Linked DNA regions of Homo sapiens: all the other regions are linked to region 3. Evidence: promoter capture Hi-C in human tissues and cell types (Jung and others, 2019). All regions are on one chromosome and are shown on one strand. Each heading gives the region's core, a stretch centred on a gene start or on the middle of the fragment in contact. The rest is flanking DNA. Distances are from core to core; before and after follow the strand shown. Region 1 overlaps DIP2C (disco interacting protein 2 homolog C). Region 2 overlaps DIP2C (disco interacting protein 2 homolog C). Region 3 holds the start of DIP2C (disco interacting protein 2 homolog C). Region 4 overlaps DIP2C (disco interacting protein 2 homolog C).

What was found. The method cuts DNA at HindIII sites, captures the fragments that hold promoters and counts their contacts. A contact is called where the count stands out against the background at its distance.
Region 1: a contact is called between a fragment that was not itself captured here and the fragment with the promoter of DIP2C in region 3, in 1 of the 25 tissues and cell types used here (IMR-90 fibroblasts).
Region 2: a fragment that was not itself captured here is called in contact with the fragment with the promoter of DIP2C in region 3 in 2 of the 25 tissues and cell types used here (H1 embryonic stem cells and dorsolateral prefrontal cortex).
Region 4: a contact is called between a fragment that was not itself captured here and the fragment with the promoter of DIP2C in region 3, in 2 of the 25 tissues and cell types used here (dorsolateral prefrontal cortex and hippocampus).

What each region holds. Positions count from the first base shown.
Region 1 is chr10:523,245-525,944 of GRCh38, reverse strand. All of the region lies in intron 1 of DIP2C (disco interacting protein 2 homolog C), which reads left to right. Among named protein-coding and RNA genes, the nearest start is that of DIP2C-AS2, 100 kb to the left of the region's middle. RefSeq lists an enhancer at 1,807-2,307. The HindIII fragment of the contact is 5,565 bases long and covers 1-2,700 here.
Region 2 is chr10:437,807-440,506 of GRCh38, reverse strand. The region is part of intron 4 of DIP2C (disco interacting protein 2 homolog C); the gene reads left to right. Among named protein-coding and RNA genes, the nearest start is that of DIP2C-AS2, 190 kb to the left of the region's middle. The HindIII fragment of the contact is 5,559 bases long and covers 1-2,700 here.
Region 3 is chr10:688,402-691,101 of GRCh38, reverse strand. It overlaps DIP2C (disco interacting protein 2 homolog C), which reads left to right and starts at 1,434. Exons shown (of 37, transcript NM_014974.3): 1 at 1,434-1,608. The coding sequence starts at 1,524. RefSeq lists an enhancer at 124-1,059. The HindIII fragment of the contact is 17,538 bases long and covers 1-2,700 here.
Region 4 is chr10:459,597-462,410 of GRCh38, reverse strand. All of the region lies in intron 3 of DIP2C (disco interacting protein 2 homolog C), which reads left to right. Among named protein-coding and RNA genes, the nearest start is that of DIP2C-AS2, 170 kb to the left of the region's middle. The HindIII fragment of the contact is 4,017 bases long and covers 1-2,814 here.

The sequences.
Region 1 (2,700 bases), core at 133-2,632, 170 kb after region 3:
AGCAGCTCACCTGGGCTACTTGGAAATGCAGATTCCTGGGCACAGACCTGCTGGGACAAAACCTGAGAGGCCCTGGGTTGACTACCCTCCAGGGATTCCATCCAGGCTTGGCCATCATGTCTCTTGGCAGGTCACTCAGGCCCGGCTGTCTCATTGAGATGCCTGGCCATCGCAGGGTTAGCTGAGTCACCTGCACAGCTGGTGTGGGTGTGCTGATGGGTGTACGGGGCTGGCCTGTCTTCCTTTCTCCACCTACGAAGCATTCAAAGGCCTGTTATCCTACCCTGTTCTCTCCCTGTCCTCAGTGGGCAAGCAGGAGGTTCATTTTCACTTGCAGATGAGGAAAATTCTGAAGTCTTGTAAAGCAGCCAAGATCATATTCAGAATCTTCTTTGTTCCAATCAGCTCGAATTTTTACAGTTAGAAAGACTTTTCCTCAAACACTTTGTATTTGTTCTGTATGAGAAGTGCCGTAGACTTTGCTGTTGTTTTACTAATTAGTATCTGTACTGTGTTCTGCTGTCCATCACAAATGTATGTATTTTCATTCTGAGATACGCTGAGTCTCAGCCTTTGCAATCCAGAGGGATTTCATGTGTGTTCATAAAAGCTTCTATCAGAAACCACATTCCGAATAGCTGTGGACATACAACCTGCTTGTGACTTGGAAATTGCTGAAGTCAAATTCTATCTCGGTTTGAGGCGTTAGGAGCTTTAGAAATTTTGAAATTATAAAATGAAAATGTGATAAAATTAAGTACATTTAAACAAAAGAGATATGCTGTGGGTTTTAAGGGCTGTGATGCATTTAAGAATGCTTTTCTGTATTTTAGATTTGGTTGTCTTTAAGGATGTCATGTTCCATCCAAACTACAAATACATGAGATAATTTAAATGTAAGTTGAACCCTTCAGAATATCCTGGATTTGGTCTTGATCTTCTGACCTTGAAAATGTGATTCTTTTTTTTTTTTTTTTGAAATTGTGATTGTCTTAAACTGTGTGTCTAGACCATCTCCTCTGAATTGCTTTGGAAACATCTGCACGGGCATCTTCCTGTTCTTGAGTATAGAGAGGTGGACATCATTACGCTTTAAAATAGCGAAAGTCCTGTAGAGCAGTTTTTCTTAATCAGTGATGGTATTTAAAAATGAACTCCCTAATGCTTAAACTAATGAGCTATTATTGTTGGAAGTATTCAAGGTAGCAAGTTATAGAATCTCTCAGTGAAAGTGATTTGAAATAAGAAATTGCGAGAGTGCAATGCATTCTTTGTTTTTAAAATAAAACGCTAATACTTAGAGAATGTTTTGTTTGCAAGAATGTAAGATGTTATGTCTTTGTATAGAATTTAAGGATAGTAATTTGCTTCTGAGATCTTTGAGATTTGAAATCTCAACTATGGTTTATCGTCCATGTTTTATACATTTGCACATATACACATATATATGTAAGGTATATAAAAGTAGAGGAAAATAAGCATGTATATATTTACATGTATATACACTTCTATAATGTGTATACTTCCAGTCACATATAGGTCTGAGTGACTGATTTTACTTGATGACCATGAAGGTAATTAAATAATTTTCCTGCTGTTAGCCTTGCTTTTTGCATCTGAGCAGGGACCCTGTGAAGTGTGCCTCCCGCGTTCCAGGCCTCACACAGTCTGTACCAGGGTTTGGAAGCAGGGGTTTTTCTGCAGCCACTTCAAGAAGCAGGTGGTTGCCAGGATTGCCTGGAGCTCCAGGCTGCCTCCAGTTCCAGCCTCCCTGGGGTAGAAGCTGCCCCACTAGGGGCCTTGACATGGACGTTAGGGCCTGGAGCCAGGGACTCCTTCCTGAAGGGGTGCTCCAGTCACGGCTGGGCGTGAGAACTGAGGGCGGGAGGTGGAACCAGCCTCGGGCCATTGCACGGCCTCCTGGGAGTGCTTATGGGAAGCCCCAGCCACCCTTTGCTGACCCCACAGCCAGCATCAAACTCTGAGATCCCCTTGGCCCACCCCTCAGGTTCCTAAAATGCTTTGGGTTTCCTGGGCTGCGAATTTTTAGGTCTAGGCTAAAAGGTCCTGGGACAGAGTCACAGGGTTCTTTATGTGTAAAAGCGACAAGTGTGCTGGTAACTCAGAGCAGTCCCTGCATCCTCGCTCCAGGGTCCTTTGCGTCAGGTGGAAACGGGCGTGTTGGTCACACAGAGTCCCTGCATCTTCACTCCAGGGTCCTTTGCATCCAGTAGAAACGAGTGTGTGGGTGACACAGAGTCCCTGCATCGTCACTCCAGGGTCCTTTGCATCCGGTAGAAACGAGTGTGCGGGTCACACAGAGTCCCTGCATCCTCACTCCAGGGTCCTTTGTGTCATGTGGAAACGAGCGTGTGGGTCATGCAGAGTCCCTGCATCCTCACTCCAGGGTCCTTTGCTCAGGTAGAAACGAGTGTGTGGGTGACACAGAGTCCCTGCATCCTCACTCCAGGGTCCTTTGCATCCAGTAGAAACGAGTGTGTGGGTGACACAGAGCCCCTGCATCTTCACTCCAGGGTCCTTTGCATCCGGTAGAAACGAGTGTGTGGGTGACACAGAGTCCCTGCATCGTCACTCCAGGGTCCTTTGCATCCGGTAGAAACGAGTGTGTGGGTCACACAGAGTCCCTGCATCCTCACTCCAGGGTCCTTTGCTCAGGTGGAAACGAGTGTGTGGGTCATA
Region 2 (2,700 bases), core at 168-2,667, 250 kb after region 3:
TCATATAAATGTGCTATATTGTTGTATTGTTTTAGAACAAGCAAATTGGACAATTTAGGCAGTTACCCAAATCACGGGTCATAAACTTTGCCTGCAAGTTGCCAGATAGTATTTTAGTTCCTGCAGGCCATAAGGTCTGTCACAACCACTCAACTCTGCCCTTGGAGTGTGAAAGCAGCCATAGGTGATAGCAAGTGGGTATGGCTGTGTACCAATAAAACTTTATAAGAACAGCGGACCAGATTTGGTGCACAGATGTGCCAACCCCGATCTGAATTACTGAAGGTAATAGCCCATTTATATTTGTGTTATGTAATACTGCTTTTATTTAATCTTGAATTTTACATAACTACCCAAATTCTCTATTTTCTCTGCCCAAATAATTATAAACTACATCTCATGATCTTCCCACCCAAGTAAAGCAGAAAGTGTAGTTATCCAGATACTTGTTAGAAACATGGATTGAACCTACGTTGTTTGGTGTTTAGTTTCTGTGATTTTGATTCCAACATTATTCATGTGACAGTTGCAAGCTTGTCTTCTCAAAGGACCTAAATCACCTTACATCCCACTTTGAAGCTACACACCACTTTGACACCATTTTTTTCTCCACTACAAGAGAAACTTAAGGTACAATATGAATAGTTGAAAATGTACAATTTTTTGGGAGTATTTTTACTTTTGAAGTTTAGCTTGGTCTTGGCAAGCAGTGAGACAGAAGGACATGCATCAGATCAGAGCTGAGATCAAGCATATGCCCACATTATTCCAAGTAGCTCCTGAGTATTCACCTTTATACCTTTACTAATGAAGGTACTGAGATTGATAGGACAGAACTTAAAGAGTGCATAATTTGGGGTTTTTGTTGTTTTTTGTTTGTTTTGAGACAGGGTCTTGCTCTATCGCCACGGTCAGAATTCAGTGTCATGATTGCAGCTCTTGGCTCACTGCAGCCGTGACCACCTGGGCTCAGGCGGTCCTCCCACTTCAGCCTCTCAAGCACCTGGGACCACAGGTGCATGCCACCACACCCAGCTAATTTTTAAGTTTTTGTGGAGACAGGGTGTTCCTATGTTGTTGTTGTTTTTCATTTACACATGCGTGATCTTCGTCTAAAGAACACAGTGCCAGCGGGCAAGAGAGTGAACGCCGTGCTAGCAAATGCCAGTGGGCAAGGGAGTGAACGCCGTGCTAGCAAGGTTGTTGGCAAGGGAGTGAACGCCGTGCTAGCAAATGCTAGCGGGCAAGGGAGTGAACGCCGTGCTAGCAAGGTTGTTGGCAAGGGAGCTCTTTCTGCCAACGTGCTCCCTTGGGCTCCTCCTTTTCTTTATTTTAATATTAAGCAACAGCACGTAATTAGGGGCTAGGCACGGTAGCTCATGCCTGTAACTCCTGCACTTTGGGAGTCCAGGGCAGGCGTATGGCTTGAGCCCAAGAGTTCAAGACCAGCCCGGAAAACATGGCAAAATGTACCAAAATGCCTTTTGTACATTTTGTCTCCACCAAAAGTACAAAAAATTAGCTGGGCCTGGTGGTGTACACCTGTAGTCCCAGCTACTTGGGAGGCTGAGGTGGAAAAATCACTTGAGCCTGGGAGGCAGAGGTTGCCGTGAGCTGAGATGGCACCACTGCACTCCAGCCTGGGAAACACAGCAAGACCCCATCTCAATTAGAAAAAAATAACGATAATAAATAGAGACTCTTTAAAAATGATTAGGCCAGGCATGGTGGCTCATGCCTCCAGCCTCAGCACTTTGGGAAGCCAAGGCAGGCAGATTGCTTGAGTCCTGGAGTTTGAGACCAGCCTGGGCAACATTCCAAAACCCTGTCTCCACCAAAAATACAGAAATCAGCCAGGCATGGTGGTGTGTGCGCATAGTCCCAGCTGCTCGGGAGGCTGAGGTGGGAGGATCACTTGGGCCCAAGGAGGCTGAGGCTGCAGTGAGCCATGGTCATGCCACTGCACTGCAGCCTGGGCAACAGAGGAAGACCCTATCTCAAAAAAAAAAAATGCTTAATCCTGTTTGTTTAGTTTATGGTTATAATTTGCCAAAACTTATGGTAAAAAAATGTTATTTGTATGTGTTCTTTGTGTAACTAACAAAATGGACTTAAAAGGATAACCCACTTGAAATATTTTAAACCGAATTCTTGGCACTAACCGGTTATTTAAGGCAACACACATTTTTCTTGACCACTTTTTATAAGAGAAACGATGAGTTTGAAATGGAAGAAGCAGTGTGGTTATTTGCTTGCTTATTTCTCATATTGAATCCAACCACTGAGAGATGTTACTGGGTCATGTGTGATGAATAACCTCATTGTACAGATGTCTTTGCAAAATGCAAAAGAATATTTGAAATGTTATTTTTGTGAAATATTTGGATTTGACTAGCATTTTTATATAAACCATAAAAAACCTTCTGTAAATTTTCATCAGGAGTCCTTGTGATATCACATGGGGTAGTTTTGTACAATCATAAATATCAATATCATAAAAATTTTTTACTCCCAGCTATTTTGTGCTTAGCAGTAGTCTGCATGTTTATTACCCTGCTTACTTGAACAAAATCTTAGCTGCATTTTCTTACCTATTTTTCTTGGTTGTTGGTAACAGTGGTTAGATCTTATCTCAGTTTCATTGCTCTTCAGAGAATATTCTTAAAGTTTATCTTCTATGAAATGACTGGCTGCTGACCA
Region 3 (2,700 bases), core at 185-2,684:
GTGGAGGCCGGGAGCAGAGGTGCTGCGGGTCAGCCGCGTTGTTTGCAGGAGCCGGAGTGTGGAGGCCGCAAGGCTGCCGTGCAGGTGGGTCCCGGCTGGTGGGGGCTCCGGTCGAAGCGGGGTGGGGGGGTGGTGGGGGGTAGGGGTAGGGGGGTGAGGTGGGGGACCTGTGTTCCTGCGGCCCACTCTGAAAGGGGAGTGAGTGCAGCTGGGCCTCCGGGAGCCAGCGCTGGCCAATGTCCCGTGGAGGACGGGGAGGCGAGGAGGTCTTTAGGAAGCTCTGGGCCTAAGGGAGGGGCCGGGCTGGGAAGAGGGGGTACAAGGATGAAAAGGAGGCCAGGTCGTCGGGGCTTTGTGCAACAGACTGGGGAGGATGTGTGGAGACAGAGGAAGGTGATGATGAAGACAACGGGGGCGGTTCTGAGAAGCAGAACTTCCAGTGACTAAGAGTCACTGGAAGCAGCTGGCTTCATTTAGGGTTTGTGGCGTTTGGGGTGTCTAGGGGCTTCCAGGGAAGTTTGCTCAGTGGACGGTTGGAGATGCGAGGGCCTCCCCAGATGGTCAGGACTAGAGGCACAGACGGGGCTTCAGCCTCGCCGAGGTGGCACTGAGGCTGGGAGCTGATGGCCCCACAAGGAGAAGGACGGTGGGAACCCTGGGGCCTGCAGCCTGTTCCGGGAGGGCTGGAGCCAGGCTTTTCGGGCCCACCTGGCATTTGGAGATTAGGTGACCCAACCTTGTCTTCCCATCCCCTTTTCACAGATGGGGACACTGACCCTCCAGGCAAAGGCTCAGAGTCGCTCAAGGTCATCTGCTGGTCGTTGCATTCGAAACTTCCAGCCTAGCGCTCCGTCTCCGCCTCTTAAAATGTTCATTAACAAAAAACCAGCCCTCCAAGACCCGGGGCACTGCGAGTTTTCGCGCAGACGTCAAGCTGCGGCTCCAGGACGTGATTTTCGCAGGGAGCCGGGTGGACCAGGCTCTGGGGCCGGGCCCGCAGGCTCCGCTGGACGCGCAGAGCCCAGGACAGACAAGACCGCCCCGCCCCGCCCCGCCCCGCGGGCCCCGAGCCCCCAACCCGCCCCCGAGCGCGCCCCCGGGAGCGCGCGCTTCGCCGACGCGGCCGCGCGCCCCCCCGCGCGCTCCCGCTCCTGCGCGTCCTCGCGCCCCGCGCGCGCGCGCCCTGCCCCCGCGGCCCCGTGACGCGCGCGCGCAGAGACGCTCCCGCCGGGCCGGGGCCGAGAGCAGCAGGGCCGGGTCCGGGTCCGCAGCGCCTGCGGGGAGGGGCCGAGCGCGCGCGGGGCGGGCCGGGGACCGTGGGGCGCGGGGGCGCGCGAGGCGGCCGTGGCGGGGCCGCGCTGAGGAGGCGCCGAGGGGAGGGAGGTCCCTGCGCGCCCGCCGCCCGCCTCCCGCGCCCGCGCCGCCGCCTCCTCCTCGGTGCGGTTCCGCCGGGCGCGAGGAGCCGCCGAGACCTCCGCCTGCGAACAAAGAGGAGGCCGTGCGGGGCGCGGCGCCCGCGGAGCATGGCGGACCGCAGCCTGGAGGGCATGGCGCTGCCCCTGGAGGTGCGGGCGCGCCTGGCCGAGCTGGAGCTGGAGCTGTCGGAAGGTAACCGGGCCCCCGCCCCGGGCCGGGCCGCGCTGTCACCGGGGAGGGCCGCGCGCGGAGGGCTGGGGGCGCGGGGCCTGCGGCGGGGCGGGGGCCGGGCCCGGAGGGGGAGGTGCGACCCCAGCCCGGAGCGTGCGCGTCCCCCGGACCCCCAGACCCCGCGCCCTAGGGACGTTTGTGAGGCCGCGATCCCCCGCGCTCTGGGGACGTTTGTGGGGCCGCGATTCCCCGCGCCCTGGGGGTGTCTGTGGGGCCTGGGATCCCCTCGCGCTCTGGGGGTGTTTGTGGGGCCGCGATCCCCCGCGCCCTGGGATGTTTGTGGGGCCGCGATCCCCCCGCGCCCTGGGGGTGTCTGTGGGGCCTGGGCGCCGCGCGGGGACGCAGGATGCAGCGGGCCCGGCGGGATCGGCCTTCCCGTGCGCTCTGCGCTGGAGCCGCGGCGTCCTTGGTGCAGCAGCGCGGTGCGCGCCACCTCCTCGCTGGCGGGTTCGGCCTGGAACGCCCGGCCAGATTTCAATGCGAAACTTGTCGTTGGACCCCGGGTTCGATCTCTGGTGGCTCAGGCCGTGCAGCGGTCCTGGCGCGGCCCGGGGGATCCCACCCCCATTGTTCGCGGGCGCTGCGCGGGGAGGGCTGGGCGGAATCGTCAACCTCCCCCCGGGCCGGGCTCCGGCCTTGCCGTCCTGGTCCTCTCGTAGGAGGGTTTGTGGCAGATCAGCCACCGCGGTCTTATGGAGGGTTGTGTACGCCTCTTATTTGCTCTTCATGGCGGAGATCATGTGCTCAACTGTCATAAGTTTCAGATCGGGCTTTGCCAGGTCTTTTCCCCAAAACCACTGAAGTTCCCAAATCTGAAATGTTTGATGTGCATTTAGCCGTCTCTGGGCTCATCCTGGTCAGGCCATTCCTGTAACGTGGGGTGGGGTGGGGGTGGGCCGGCGCGTCTCACATTTATATTTGGAGCAGTTTAGCATGGTGAACTTTTTTTGGGTAACGGTTTTGTGAGGGCCGGCAGCCAGAAAGTAAACTCATTCGTGCCAATTTTCACCGGCAGGGAGGAGCTGGTGTTGACTTTATGTTTTCCTTTTTAAC
Region 4 (2,814 bases), core at 105-2,604, 230 kb after region 3:
TTTATTTGCATAGAGATGTTTACAGTATTCTCTGGTAGTTTGTATTTCTGTGGGATCAGTGGTGATATCCCCTTTATCATTTCTTATTGTGTCTATTTGATTCTTCTCTCTTTTCTTCTTTGTCTGGCTAGTGGTCTATCTATTTTGTTGATCTTTTCCAAAAACCAGCTCCTGGATTCATTGATTTTTTTGAAGAGTTTTTCGTGTCTCTGTCTCCTTCATTTCTGCTCTGATCTTAGTTATTTCTTGTCTTCTGCTAGCTTTTGAATTTGTTTGCTCTTTCTTCTCTAGTTCTTTTAATTATGATGTTAGGGTATCGATTTTAGATCTTTCCTGCTTTTTCTTGTGGGCATTTAGTGCTATAAATTTCCCTCTACACACCTCTTTATCTGTGTCCCAGAGATTCTGGTACATTGTCTTTTGTTCTCATTGGTTTCAAAGAACTTATTTATTTCTGCCTTAATTTCATTATTTACCCAGTAGTCATTCAGGAGCAGGTTGTTCAGTTTCCATGTATTTGTGCAGTTTTGAGTGAGTTTCTTAACTGTGAGTTCTAATTTGATTGCACTGTAGTCTGAGAGACTGTTTGTTATGATTTCCATCCTTTTGCATTTGTTGAGTGTTTTACTTCCAATTATGTGGTCAGTTTTAGAATAGGTGCAATTTGGTGCTGAGAAGAAGGTATATCCTATTGATTTGGGGTGGAGAGTTTTGTAGATGTCTATTAGGTCCGCTTGGCCCAGAGCTGAGTTCAAGTCCTGAATATCCTTGTTAATTTTCTGTCTCAATCTGTCTAATACTGACGTTGGGGTGTTAAAGCCTCCCACTGTTACTGTGTGGGAGTCTAAGTCTCTTGGTAGGTATCTAAGAACTTGCTTTATGAATCTGGGTGCTCCTGTATTGGGTATGTATATATTTAGGATAGTTGGCCCTTCTTGTTGTATTGATCCCTTTGCCATTGTGTAATGCCCTTCTTTGTCTTTTTTGATCTTTGTTGGTTTAAAGTATGTTTTATCAGAGACCAGGATTGCAACTCATGCTTTTTTTGCTTTGTAAATATTCCTCCATCCTTTATTTTGAGCCTATGTGTGTCTTTGCACATGAGATAGGTCTCCTGAATACAGCACACCAACGGGTCTTGACTCTATCCAGTTTGCCAGTCTGTGTCTTTTAATGGGGGCATTTAGCCCATTTACATTTAAGGTTAATATTGTTATGTGTGAATTCGATCCTGTCATTATGATGCTAGCTGGTTATTTTGCCCATTAGTTGATGCAGTTTCTTCACAGTGTCAGTGGTCTTTACAATTTGTTATGTTTTTGCAGTGGCTGGTACCAGTTTTTCGTCTCCATATTTAGTGCTTCCTTCAGGAGCTCTTGTAAGGCAGACCTGGTGGTGACAGAATCTCTCAGCATCTGCTTGTCTGTAAATGATTATATTTCTCCTTCACTTACAAAGCTTAGTTTGGCTGGATAGGAAATTCTGGGTTGAAAATTCTTTAAGAATGTTGAATATTGGCCCCCACTCTCTTCTGGCATGTCGGGTTTCTGCAGAGAGATCCGCTGTTAGTCTGATGAGCTTCCCTTTGTGGGTAACCCTACCTTTCTCTCTGGCTGCCCTTAACATTTTTTCCTTCATTTTAATCTTGGTGAATCTGACAATTATGTGTCTTGGGGTTGCTTTTCTCAAGGAGTATCTTCGTGATATTCTCTGTATTTCTCAATTTGAATGTGGGCCTGTCTTGGTTGGTTGGGGAAGTTCTCCTGGATAATATCCTGAAGAGTGTTTTCCAACTTGTTCCATTCTCCCCATCAATGACTGAATTTTAGCAGCCCAGAAATAATTTTGTTATTGCTTACATAATTGACCTAGTTAATAATTAATCTACTCAGCCATTTAACCTCTACTGGATGTATTTTCTCATTTCATTTCTAAACCCATGACCTTACTTTGTAATGAATTCTTATGAAAGCTCTTCATCATAGTACATATCTTCTCTTTATAAATAGCTTTCTTTTGGAACTTGAGCTTGATTTGGGAAGTAAGTGAATGAGCTGGCATTTATTGAGCACCTAGAATGTATTGGAGTCGATTTTAAGCACTTCATTACCTTTACTTGATAAACTCTCAGTTAGAGCTTAGATTCTAGCTTTAGTTATCACCTTTTTTTCCCCAACCAACAACTCTGGAAAAGAAAACCTGGAGACTTGTGTTGTGCCCATTCCACCCAAGACTGGGAGAGGAAGATCCTAGAGCTCATGTGCAGCATGCCGTTCCCTGATGTGACTGTGAGAGGAAGATCCTAGAGCCCACGTGCAGCACGCGATCCCTTGATGTGACTGTGGGAGGAAGATACTAGAGCTCATGTGCAGCACGCGGTTCCCTGATGTGGCTGTGGGAAGATACTAGAGCTCACGTGCAGCAGGTGGTTCCCTGATGTGACTGTGGGAAGGTCCTAGAGCTCACGTGCAGCAGGTGGTTGGTTCCCTGATGTGACTGGGAAGGTCCTAGAGCTCACGTGCAGCAGGTGGTTCCCTGATGTGACTGTGAGAGGAAGATCCTAGAGCCTACGTGCAGCACGCAGTTCCCTGATGTGGCTGTGGGAAGGTCCTAGAGCTCACGTGCAGCAGGTGGTTCCCTGATGTGACTGGGAGGAAGATCCCAGAGCCCACGTGCAGCACGCCGTTCCCTGATGTGATTGTGGGAAGATCCTAGAGCCCACGTGCAGCACGCCGTTCCCTGATGTGACTGGGAGGAAGACCCTAGAGCCCAGATGAAGGACACTGTTCCCTGATGTGGCTGTGGAAGATCCTA